Regions from separate parts of the Homo sapiens genome. Here regions 1 and 2 are each linked to region 3. The links are contacts of gene promoters, found by promoter capture Hi-C in human tissues and cell types (Jung and others, 2019). All regions are on one chromosome and are shown on one strand. The core of a region is centred on a gene start or on the middle of the fragment in contact, and the rest is flanking DNA. Distances in the headings are between cores, read along the strand shown.

What was found. Contacts are between HindIII fragments. The study calls those that stand out against the background at their distance.
Region 1: a contact is called between the fragment with the promoter of SPINK8 here and a fragment that was not itself captured in region 3, in 1 of the 25 tissues and cell types used here (stomach).
Region 2: the fragment with the promoter of CSPG5 here is called in contact with a fragment that was not itself captured in region 3 in 2 of the 25 tissues and cell types used here (lymphoblastoid cells and pancreas).

The regions. Positions count from the first base shown.
Region 1 is chr3:48,331,280-48,335,539 of GRCh38, reverse strand. It overlaps SPINK8 (serine peptidase inhibitor Kazal type 8 (putative)), which reads left to right and starts at 1,879. Exons shown (of 8, transcript NM_001080525.3): 1 at 1,879-2,005; 2 at 3,069-3,174. RefSeq lists a silencer at 1,334-1,534. The HindIII fragment of the contact is 10,965 bases long and covers 1-4,260 here.
Region 2 is chr3:47,576,344-47,580,473 of GRCh38, reverse strand. It overlaps CSPG5 (chondroitin sulfate proteoglycan 5), which reads left to right and starts at 1,609. Exons shown (of 5, transcript NM_006574.4): 1 at 1,609-1,877; 2 at 2,546-3,641. The coding sequence starts at 1,781. RefSeq lists an enhancer at 280-984 and silencers at 2,109-2,158, 2,199-2,258, 2,309-2,398, 4,001-4,130. The HindIII fragment of the contact is 21,614 bases long and covers 1-4,130 here.
Region 3 is chr3:48,029,630-48,033,882 of GRCh38, reverse strand. It overlaps a transcript of MAP4 not described here. Among named protein-coding and RNA genes, the nearest start is that of MAP4, 15 kb to the right of the region's middle. The HindIII fragment of the contact is 3,193 bases long and covers 24-3,216 here.

The DNA of each region.
Region 1 (4,260 bases), core at 630-3,129, 300 kb before region 3:
CCCTTTGGGGTTAGGAGCGTTGGTCTGCCTGGAACCAGCTTCCGCTTTCACAATTTCCTGGGGGGAAGCCGAGGGCCGACTAGAGGCAGAAAGCTGTCGTCCTGAACTCCCGGCATTGGCTGGTTGAGATCATGGTGCAGCCAGAAGTCTCTACTCAACAGTTGCCCACGTGTGCACCCCTACCTTTCCTTCTGACCCATACCTCCTGGGTCCCGACCATGACTTTCTTGAAAGTGTAGCCCCAAAAATTCTCCTTACCTCTGAATCTACTTCCTCCAATCCCTGCCTCCTAGGTACTAATGCTTCAGACTTTCATTTCCTCTCCCAAGTATTAGAGCAAGTTGTATCTCCAAAGAGATCTAAGGAAGCTCTATGCTGTGGCCTTAGATATCTAGGCTATGAACCCAGGGAGTCTTGCCCCTGGTGTCCCTCCCAATTTAGGTATATAGCTGTCAACATGGGCTGTTATGTGGGACCCATTCCCCACCACCCTTGCCAGGGCCCCAAGTTTGTAAATAGCTAGGAAGATCGCTCTCCCATTGTGTAAGATGCTCTCCTCCCCTAATTTCTACCCAGTTTACTACCCCCTGCAATACAATCTCCAAGCCTTGGCTCCTTGGCCAGGCCCTTAGAACTGATAACCCAGTATTTTAACAACTGGAACTGAGTCTACAACAACATAATAGATCAGGATGAAAACGAATTTGAGTAAATTAAAGGGAGGCACATGTTCCTATAGTGGCAAACTGGGGCAACAAGTGAACGTCCTTCCACTGCGTTTCCAAAATCCATCTAAAAAAAGACAGACAGAGAGAGGAAGAGGCAGAAAGTCAAAGAGAGAAAGAAAGAAAAAAGGGAAAGAGAGAGGTAGTAAAGAAAAAACAGTGTACCCTATTCCTTTAAAAGCCAAGGTAAATTTAGAACCTATAATTGATAATTAAAGGTCTTCTCCACGACCCTATAATACTCCAATACTACCTTGTTGTCAGTGTAAACAAGGGCGTAGCCCGAAAACACTGAGACCACTGACAACCCATAGCCTTCCTATCAAAAATCCTGAACCCAGTAACCCGTGGATGGCCCAAATGCATTCAATCTGTAGTGGCAACTGCTTTGCTAACAGAATAAAGTAGAAAAATAACCTTTAGAGGAAACCTCATTGTGAGCACACCTCACCAGTTCAGAACAATCCTAAGACCAAAAAAAAAAAAAAAAAAAGGTAGCTTACTAGCTCAAAATTCTTAAAGTATGGGGCTATTCTGTTAGAAAAAGGTGATTTAACACCAACCACTGATAATTCCCTTAACCCAGCAGATTTCCTAACAGGGGATTTAAATCTTAATTGCCATGCAAAGGTCCAACCAGACCTAGGAGGAACTTCCTTTAGGATAGGACGATAGATGGTTCCTCCCAGGCGATTGAGGAAAAAACCACAATGGGTATTCAGTAATTGATAAGGAAACTCTTGTGGAAGCAGAGTTAGGAGAATTGCCTCATAATTGGTCTGCACAAACTGCGAGCTGTTTGCACTCAGCCAAGCCTTAAAGTACTTACAAAAAGAGCAAGCCCATCTTTTTCTCCTCGCTCTCCTTCTCGTAGGAAAAAGGCACATAGGATAAACAGGAGCCATCTCTCATATTTCGTACCCAAAAGGACTTAATCCAGGGCAACAAAATCTTAAGTTCGATAATTAAGGCATATTCCTACAAAGGAAAAGGACAAAGGCCCTAGTGGGCAAAAACTCTATCTCAATCCTGACTCAAAAGGTTACCTACACCCTCTCTGAAACGAATTTGCATAAGAACTGTTGTTTATGAAAATGCATCTTGATGGGGCAACTGGGTTGTTATGAAATACTCAGAAACCCAGCCCAGCTCTAGAACTCACTCCTGAGTGCAAAGGCAATGTCAGGCACGCTGGTAAAGGACCACTAGAATCCAGCAGCCCAGACCCCTTTCTTTGTGGTCAAGAAGGGCAGGAAAACAGGTGCAGGACTGCTACATCGGTGAGTGTAACTAATCTGATAAGCAGAGGTCCGTGGGTGGTTACGCACCCTGAAAAGGAATAAGCATTAGGACCACAGAGGACGCTCTAGGACTAATGCTCATCAGAAAATGACTAGGGGTGCTGGCATCCCTATGTTCTTTTTAAACGTTCCCCCCTCCCAGGCAAAAACGCCCCTAAGATGTATTCTAGAGAATTAGGACCAATTTGACCCTCAGATGCTAAGAAAGAAACGACTTATATTCTTCTGCAGTACCCCTGGCCACAATATCCTCTTCAAGAGGGAGAAACATGCCCTCCAAGGGAAGTATAAATTATAACACCATCTTACAGCTAGACTTCTTTTGTAGAAAATAGGGCAAATGGAGCGAAGTGCCATATGTGCAAACTTTCTTTTCATTAAGAGACAACTCACAATTATGTTAAAAGTGTGATTTATGCCCTACAGGAAGCCCTCAGAATCTACCCCCCTGCCCCGGCGTTCCCCCGGCTCCTTCCCCAACTAATAATGACCCCCCTTCAACACAAACGGTGCCAAAGGAGATAGAGAAAGGGGTAAACAATGAACCAAAGAGTGCCAATATTCCCAGATTATGCCCCCTTGAAGTGGTGGGAGGAGGAGAATTCAGCCCAGAGTGTGTGTACCTTTTTCCCTCTCAGACTTGAAGCAAATTAAAATAGACCTAGGTAAATTCTCAAATAACCCTGATGGCTATATTGATGTTTTACAAGGGTTAGGACAATCCTTTGATCTGACATGGAGAGACATAATGTTACTGCTAGATCAGATACTAACCCCAAATGAGAGAAGTGCCGCTATAACTGCAGCCCAAGAGTTTGGCAATCTCTGGTATCTCAGTCAGGTCAATGATAGGATGACAACAGAGGAAAGAGAACGATTCCCCACAGGCCAGCAGGCAGTTCCCAGTGTAGACCCTCAATGGGACGCAGAATCAGAATGTGGAGATTGGTGCCGCAGACATTTGCTAACTTGCATGCTAGAAGGACTAAGAAAAACTAGGAAGAAGCCTATGAATTATTCAATGATGCCCACTATAACACAGGGAAAGGAAGAAAATCCTACTGCCTTTCTGGAGAGACTAAGGGAGGCATTGAGGAAGCATACCTCTCTGTCATCTGGATCTATTGAAGGCCAACTAATCTTAAAGGGTAAGTTTATCACTCAGCTGCAGACATTAGAAAAAAACTTCAAAATCCGCCTTAGGCCTGGAACAAAACTTAAACTAAGAACTTGGCCTCAGTTTTTATAATAGAGATCAGAAGGAGCAGGCAGAACTGGACAAACGGGATAAAAAGAAGGCCACCGCTTTAGTCATGGCCTTCAGGCAAGTGGACTTTGGAGGCTCTGGAAAAGTGAAAGGCTGGGCAAATCGAATGCCTAATAGGGATTTGATTCCAGTGCGGTCTACAAGGACACTTTAAAAAAGATTGTCCGAATAGAAATAAGCCACCCCCTCATCCATGCCCCTTATTTCAAGGGTATCACTGGAAGGCCCACTGCCCCAGGGGATGAAGGTCCTCTGAGTCAGAAGCCACTAACCAGATGATCCAGCAGCAGGACTGAGGGTGCCTGGGGCAAGCGCCAGCCCCTGGCATCACCCTCCCCAGGTATGCTTGACCACTGAGGGCCAGGAGGTTAACTGTCTGCTGGACACTAGCGCGGCCTTCTCAGTCTTACTCTCCTGTCCCAGACAACTGTCCTCCAGATCTGTCACTATCCGAGGGGTCCTAGGACAGGCAGTCACTAGATACTTCTCCCAGACACTAAGTTGTGACTAGGGAACTTTACCATTTTCACATACCTTTCTAATTATGCCTGAAAGCCCCATTCCCTTGTTAGGGAGAGACATTCTAGCAAAAACAGGGGCCATTATACACTAGAATTAGGAGAAGAAAAAAAGGTAAATATCTATACAGACTCTAAGTATGCTTACCTAGTCCTCCATGCCCACGCAGCAATATGGAGAGAAAGAGAATTCCTAACTTCTGAGGGAACACCTATCAAATATCAGGAAGCCATTAGAAGATTATCATTGGCTGTACAGAAACCTAAAGAGGTGGCAGTCTTACACTGCAGGAGTCATCAGAAAGGAAAGGAAAGGGAAATAGAAAGGGAACCGCCAAGCAGATATTGAAGCCAAAGAGCCACAAGGCAGGACCCTCCATTAGAAAGGCTTATAGAAGGACCCCCTAGTATAGGGTAATCCCCTCCGTGCCGCTATACTACCAGTAGCT
Region 2 (4,130 bases), core at 360-2,859, 450 kb after region 3:
TGAGTGCAAAGCCCTACATGGTCCCCTGTTTAGAGAAGGCTATTGTTTCAAACATATTTTACTTGGTCCCCGGAGGCAGCATGAAACTATGAAAGAAAGAGCCTTACCCCTTTTTTCAAGGCTCTCCAGACCACAGTTCTGGGATGGGTGTGGGTGGTTGCCATTCGTTCATTTATGCCTGTCTGATATGGAGCCTCCCTCTGTTACCAGCCCTGTGCACTCAAGTGCCTTGCAGTCCAGTGAGGAATAACTGTAGATAAGATGAGATGATGGGCATTAAGTGTAACTGCTGAGAAGCCTTCATAGAGGGAAAGGTGATAAGAACTGAGTTTTTCTGGCATGAGGAGTTTACCAGGCAGGAGAGGTGGAGACGCTAGGCTAGGCAAATAGGCTGCAGCCATAGTTCTGCTGAGAAACAGGTTTTGAACCAAGGCAACTCCATCTGGAGATATGTATCAGAAAGATTAGGAGATAGAATCTCCATCTTGGTCACTTATTTGGTCTTCTAAGACAGCAATGGGACCGTCTCTTAAATACTGGAGTTGTCCTATCTCCTTGGGCTGATACCCTGAACTGTCATTTGGGTGAGTAACACATTAAGGGGTAGACGGTCGGTTTGGGGGAATAAACTAAGTAACTAGGTTGCGGTTCCTCCTGCCGACTAAGCAGACCTCCTGGTGCGTGGTCTTGGGTTGCCCTGTGAGCCCTGAAGCTGTGAATGGGCCCCACAGATCACTCTAAAGCCAAGCATCCATGTGTGCCCGGCTGGGGATCTAGACCCCCCTGGTCTACCCAGGAACCTGAGTTTTGGTGGTCTGAGACACCTGGGGGACGACGTATCCCGGAGAAGGGACCAGGATTAAAGGCCGCTCCCCAGGCTGCCCGGAGACTAGAAGGAAGGCGAGGTAGCCGCAGTCCCAGGGAGGGTCTTACCCCTTGCTCCCGGGATGCGTTATGGCGGGCCTGGCTGTGCGAGATCTAGGCTAGTGGCTTTGGCTGCGAACGGATTAGATCTGATCCGATTAGAGCCTGGGCGGTCGGCTTCGCCCCCTTGCCAGGCTCTGCCAACGCCCGCCCCTCCCTCGTGGAGACCCGGAGACCTCCCTGAGAGCCTTCCCGCCCGGAACACGGGATTGGTGCAGAATCCGAGAGGCTCCATGCGCCCCGGGCCTGGCTTGTTTCCACAGTGGGGGCTCGTGCTTCCGCCCCCTGCGGCTCTTCTGGACCCCGCCCCGACCCTGCGGGTAACTGGGCCCGCGACGTCCCCGCCTCCGTGCTTGCCGCGTGGCGGGTGGGTTCCTCCGGGTCGGGGCCCCGTGCCGCCTGTTCACCTGGGGCGGGACCGTGGCCCCATCCCACAGGTCTCCCGCCCGTGCACCTGCCGCCTAACGCCGCGCGCCGCGCCGTGCGCCTGCCTCGCGCTCCCCGTCCGCCTGCCCCGCACTCCCCGTCCGTGTGTCTCCTAGTCCCCAGCGAGGGGTCTGTCTGTTCCCCTGGCAGGCTGACCAAGGGGCCGGCGTCACCGCTACGTGCGGCGGGGCCGGCGCGGCGGGCGGGGTGAGGGCGGCGCTGAGCGCAGCGGCGGCAGCGGCGGCGCGGGAGGCGGGGAGGCGCGGCGCGCCGGGGACAGCGGCGGACGGCGGCGGCGGCGGCATGCGGCTCCTCGCGCTGCCCATCGTGGGCTGAGGCGGCCGCAGAACCGGCGGGAGGCGCGGCGGCCGGGCGAGCCGAGGGCGCAGCCAGCCGGGCGGACCGCGGACAGCGGTCGGGGCGCCGCGCCATGGGGCGAGCCGGGGGCGGGGGCCCGGGCCGGGGGCCGCCGCCACTGCTGCTGTTTCTGGGGGCCGCGCTGGTCCTGGCCTCTGGGGCCGTGCCGGGTAGGTATGACTGCGCCCGGGACCCCCGCGGCCCTCGTGCCCCACCCAGGGCAGGGGTCCCGCTGGCGGCGGGGACAGGTGGAGCTGTGAGCTGTGGCAAGGGGGCGGGGCACCGCCTGGCCGCGGCCGGGCGGCGGAATGGTCCCAGGAGGTGGTGGGGGTCCGGGAAAGGCCGACCCGCGTGGGGGCCGACCCCGGTTGGGGTAGCCGGGACCCAAGCGCGCGGGCCGCGGTGCGGACTGGGGGCGGGGCCGGGGGCGGGGCCGGGGCGGGGCCGGGGCGGGGCCTGAGGGTGAGACTTCGGGGCGGGACCTGGAGCTGAGGGCGGGAGCCAGTGGACGCGGCTCAGGGTGGGTTCCCGAGGGTGAGACTTATGGGTGGGCCGAGCTGGGGGCCGCCCTGGCCTGGCTCTTCAGACGGCGGGGCAGGTCGGGCGGGGCCGAGCCGCGAGGCGTTGGGCGGGGTGTGATCCTCGTCTTGGGGGCAGACTCCGGGACGGGGCTTAGAGGTACCGGGTGGCTGGGGTCACACTGGGGCGGTGGGGTCTGAGGGTGGCGAGGTCTGGGTTGACCAGGTCTAGGCGAGCGGGCCTGACCGGGGCGGGCCGGGGCTCCAGGGCTCCTCAGCGCGCCGCCCTGACGTCCCGCCCCTTGCCCTCCCGCCCGCAGCGCGTGAGGCGGGCAGCGCGGTTGAGGCCGAAGAGCTGGTGAAGGGCAGCCCGGCGTGGGAGCCGCCTGCCAACGACACGCGGGAAGAAGCCGGCCCACCAGCGGCTGGGGAAGATGAGGCGTCGTGGACGGCGCCCGGTGGCGAGCTGGCCGGGCCAGAAGAGGTGCTGCAGGAGTCGGCTGCGGTGACCGGCACCGCCTGGCTGGAAGCTGACAGCCCAGGCCTGGGAGGAGTGACCGCAGAGGCGGGCAGCGGCGATGCCCAGGCCCTTCCAGCTACGCTCCAGGCTCCCCACGAGGTCCTCGGGCAGTCAATCATGCCCCCTGCCATTCCTGAGGCTACAGAGGCCAGCGGGCCACCCTCCCCCACCCCCGGCGACAAGCTGAGCCCAGCTTCTGAACTCCCCAAGGAGAGCCCCTTGGAGGTTTGGCTGAACCTGGGGGGCAGCACACCCGACCCTCAAGGGCCAGAGCTGACTTACCCATTTCAGGGCACCCTGGAGCCCCAACCGGCATCAGATATCATTGACATCGACTACTTCGAAGGACTGGATGGTGAGGGTCGTGGCGCAGATCTGGGGAGCTTCCCAGGGTCACCAGGAACCTCAGAGAACCACCCTGATACTGAGGGAGAGACCCCTTCCTGGAGCCTGCTTGACTTATACGATGATTTCACCCCCTTCGATGAATCTGATTTCTACCCCACCACATCCTTTTATGATGACTTGGATGAAGAGGAGGAGGAAGAGGAGGATGACAAAGATGCAGTAGGAGGTGGAGACCTAGAAGATGAAAATGAGCTTCTAGTGCCCACTGGGAAGCCTGGTCTGGGGCCCGGGACAGGCCAGCCCACCAGTCGGTGGCATGCTGTCCCTCCACAGCACACTCTGGGGTCGGTCCCCGGCAGCAGCATCGCCCTCAGGCCCCGCCCAGGAGAGCCAGGCAGGGACTTGGCCTCCAGTGAAAATGGCACTGAGTGCCGCAGTGGCTTTGTGCGGCATAACGGCTCCTGCCGGTCAGTGTGCGACCTCTTCCCAAGTTACTGTCACAATGGCGGCCAGTGCTACCTGGTGGAGAACATAGGGGCCTTCTGCAGGTAAGGGCATGGCAGGCAGGTGCATAGGGACACTGAAGAGTGTATGTGAGGCCGACTCAACAGAGGGCAGCGTAGCCGGGCGCGTTGGCTCACGCCTGTAATCCCAGCACTTTGGGAGGCTGAGGCAGGCGGATCTCCTAAGGTCAGGAGTTCAAGACCAGCCTGGCCAAGTTGGTGAAACCCCATCTCTACTAAAAATACAAAAAATTAGCTGGGCGCGGTGGCAGGCACCTGTAGTCCCAGCTACTCAGGAGGCTGAGGAAGGAGAATCATTTGAACCCGGAGGGTGGAGGTTGCAGTGAGCCAAGATCGTGCCACTGCCCTCCAGCCTGGGTGACAAAGTGAAACTCCATCTCAAAAAAAAAAAAAAACAAAACAAAACAGAGGGCAGCGTGACAGGCACAACTTGCAAGAGGTTGTACAGTCGCAGGATTCCCAGGTGGAGAAATGTTCACTCAGGCTTCTTCTACAGAATTACTTGGTAAAATG
Region 3 (4,253 bases), core at 371-2,870:
ACCTGTAATCCCAGCACTTTGGGAGGTTGAGGCGGGCAGATCACCTAGGATCAGGAGTTCGAAACCAGCCTGGCCAACATAGTGAAAAAATCCGTCTTTACTAAAAATACAAAAACTAGCTGGCTGTGGTGGCGTGCACCTATAATCCCAGCTACTCTGGAGGCTGAGGCAGGAGAATCACTTGAACCTCGGAGGCGGAGGTTGCAGTGAGCTGAGATCCTACCACTGCACTCAAGCCTGGGTGACAGAGCGAGACTCCCGTTTCAAAAAAATTAAAAATAAAAATAAAAAAATTCTTAAGGACAGTTTGAAACTGGAGAGAAATCATAATGTACTTTAAAATGGTTAATTGTATGTTATGTAAACTTCACTTCAATTAAAAAAATTAAGGACAGCTGGAAAGAAAACTAATATACTTTTCTGTTTGTACAAAATAAAATGGTAGATTTAAGAAGCTTTAACCAGGGCTTCAACTTTCACATCATAGATACTAACTGTAGAAGCATAGTGCGATAACTGATAGTTAAATAGAAGATAAAAATCCACATGAGGAGGGCATGCCATTTTAAAAAGGAGAGCTATGTGATGCTATTTCCAATACATAGATATAGCTGGACTTACCTTCTTTATCCCTGAGAAACGAAAGCATTCTAAGTTAGCAGAGGAAATGATGATCAGAATGATAATACCTCCTACCTTTTCCCCTTGCTTCCTGATTTGGGATATAGGACAGAAAAGAAATTCTACTTTTAGTTGAGAACTCAGGGATGACTTTGAACAAATATATTTGTTAATCTCCTTGGACTTTTCTCACTTTTAAAATAAGGAGGTTGGATTCAAATGCCCTTTCTAAAGTTTTGTGATTTGGTTGGAAATATTAGATGTGCACATCACCAAGTTACTTTGTTTTGTTTCTGTGTACATGAATAAGCTTTTATTAGACTTGGTCACTGTTGTCTCTCTGTGATCAACAAGGGTAAGTTAGCTTCTAAGAGTACCAGTGGTAGAACTTTAAGATTTGAAGCTTTAACGAGAGTCAGCTAGTTTGCAGTGATTAGAGACTTGTAAGTTAATTGATATACACACTTTTGTCTATATTTATTAAGTTTCTCAGGGGAATTGTAGATTATTTCAGAGTGCAGTTTTAGGTCGTGGATCAGATTTAAGTTGGAAGTAAATAATGGTTATTACTAGAATTTTTTGTTTTTGTTTGTTTTTGAGAAGGAGTCTTTCTCTGTCACCCAGGCTGGAGTGCAGTGCCACAATCTCAGCTCACTGCAACCTCTGTCTCCTGGGTTCAAGCGATTCTCCTGCCTCAGCCTCCTGAGTAGCTGGGATTACAGGTGCCTGCCACCACACCTGGCTAATTTTTTTTTTTTTGAGACGGAGTCTTGCTCTCTTGCCCAGGCTGGAGTGTAGTGGTGCGATCTTGGGCTAACTGCAACCTCCGCCTCCGAGATTCAAGTAATTCTCCTGCCTGAGTCTCCCTAGTAGCTGGGATTACAGGCGCACACCACCATGCCCATCTAATTTTTTTATTATTTTTTTTTAGTAGAAATGCAGTTTCACCATGTTGGCCAGGCCGCTCGCGAACTCCTGACCTCAATTTTCATACATTATTATTAACTAAAGTTCATAGTTTATTTAGATTTCCTTAATTTTTACCTAAATACCTTTTTCTGTTCTAGGATCTCATCTAGGATACCACATTATGTTTAGTTATCATACTTAGCTTTCTCTTGGCTATGACAGTTTCTTACACCTCCCTTGTTTTTGATGACTTTGACAGTTTTGAGGAGTACTGGTCTGATATTTTGTAGAGTGTCCTTCAGTTGGGAGTTGTCTGATCTTTTTCTCATGATTAGACAGAGGTTATGCTTTTTAGAAGGAAGATCACAGAGGTAAAGTGCCACTCTTATCACATTATATCAAGGGTGCATACTATCAAATCATGTCAGCATGATTTATGTCTGTGTGTGTGTGTGTGTGTATGTGTGTGTGTATGTGTGTGTTTTGCTTTATCACTCAAGCTGGAGTACAGTGCTGTGATCACAGTTCACTGGAACCTCCTGGACTCGACTCAAGCTTCCTCTCAACTCAGCTTCCCAAATAGCTGGGACCATAGGCACATGCCACCAAGCCCAGCTAATTTTTTTTTGAGAAAGAGTCTTGCTCTGTTGCCCAGGCTGGGTTGCAGTGGCACGATCGTGGCTTACCGCAACCCTGGCCTCCAGGGCCCAAGTGATCCTCCCACCTCAGCCTCCCGGGTAGTTGGGACTACAGGCACGTACCACCATGCCTGGCTAATTTTTTTGTTTTTTTGTTTTTTTTTGAGATGGAGTCTTGCTCTGTCGCCCAGGCTGGAGTGCAGTGGCGCGACCTTGGCTCACTGTAACTTCCGTCTCCTGGGTTCAAGTGATTCTCCTGCCTCGGCCTCCCAAGTAGGTGGGACTACAGGCATGTGCCACCACACCCAGCTAACTTTTTGTATTTTTAGTAGAGACAGGGTTTCACCATGTTAGCCAGGATGATCTCAATCTCCTGACCTTGAGATCCCCCTACTTTGGCTTCCCAAAGTGCTGGGATTACAGGTGTGAGCCACCGCACCCAGCCTAATTTTTGTATTTTTCATAGAGATGGGGTTTCGCCATGTTGCTTGCCTAAGTTGGTGTCAGAACTCCTGGCCTCAAGTGAACCTCCTGCCTTGGCCTGCCAAAGTGCTGGGATTACAGATGTAAGCCATTGCACCCAGCTGATTTATCACTATTGATATTAGTCTTGATCACTTGGCTTAGGTAGTATTTGTCATATTTCTCTTACCCCCCCCTCCCATTTTCATATTGTACTCTTTAGAAGGAGGTCACTATGTGCTATGCACATGTAAAGGATGAAGGGTTATGTTCTACCTCTTGGAAGTGGAGTATCTTGTTTGGAATTCTTCACTGAAGACTTGCTTATTCTCTCTCATTTATTTATTCAGTCTATTGTTTATATTGTTCCAGCTTTGGTCATTGGGAACTTTTTTAGTTGACTCCTGTGTAATTGAGTTACCCCTATCTTTTTTTTTTTTTTTTTTTTTTTTTTGAGATGGAGTCTTACTCTGTCGCCCAGGCTGGAGTGCAGTGGTACAATCTCGGCTCAGTGCTACCTACACTTCCTGGGTTCAAGCAATTCTCCTGTCTCAGCCTCCCGAGTAGCTGGGATTACAGGCACCCACCATCATGCCTGGTTAATATTTGGGTTTTTTATAGAGACGGGTTTTAATCATGTTGGTCAGGCTGGTCTTGAACTCCTGACTTCAGGTGATCTGCCTGCCTTGGCCTCCCAAAGTGCTGGCATTACAGGCCTGAGCCACCTCGTCCGGCCAACTTACCCCTATCGTTGTTTTTTTTTTTTTATTTTTATTTTTAGCACTTCCTAACTTTCTGGAAATACAAGGTACTTCAGGCTCATCTTGAATATTTTGTTCTCAGTCCTAGAATTAGTCATTTCTCCAAAGAGTCTTGGTTTCTTTATCAGAGAATGGTATTAGAAACCAGCATCTGGGTGTGAGGTATGCTGTTGCTTTACTGGGGTGTCCCCTGAAGATTTTAATTAAACTTCATCTGAGTTTGAAAGGACTGGAAATGCTGTGTTTAAATTTTTTTTTATTTTCTAATTGAGACAGGGTCTCACTGTGTTGCCAAGACTGAAATCAAATTCTTAGCCTTAGATGATCCTCCCACCTCAGCCTTTCAAAGTGGTGGGATTACAGACGTGAGCCACCACACCTGGCCAGAAATGCCATATATATAAAATATATAATATATATTACATGTGAATATGTAATATATAATACATAATATTACATATGAATATATAATACATATATTATATATATATATTTTTTTTTTTGAGATGGAATCTTGCTCAGTTGCTCTGTGCAGTAGGGATCTCGGCTCACTGCAACCTCTGCCTCCTGGGTTCAAGCGATTTCCCTACCTCAGCCTCCTGAGTAGCTGGGACTACAGGTGCATGCCACCACGCCCAGCTAATTTTTTGTATTTTAATAGAGACGGGGTTTCACCGTGTTAGCCAGAATGGCCTTGATCCCCTGACCTCGTGATCCTCCCACCTCGGCCTCCCAAAGTGCTGGGATTACAGGCGTAAGCCACCGTGCCCGACCTACCTCTTTTTACTACGATTTTATTACTACTGGAACTAGATCTTAAAATATCATGTAAGATCTCTGCCATTATACTAGTTGTCTGTAG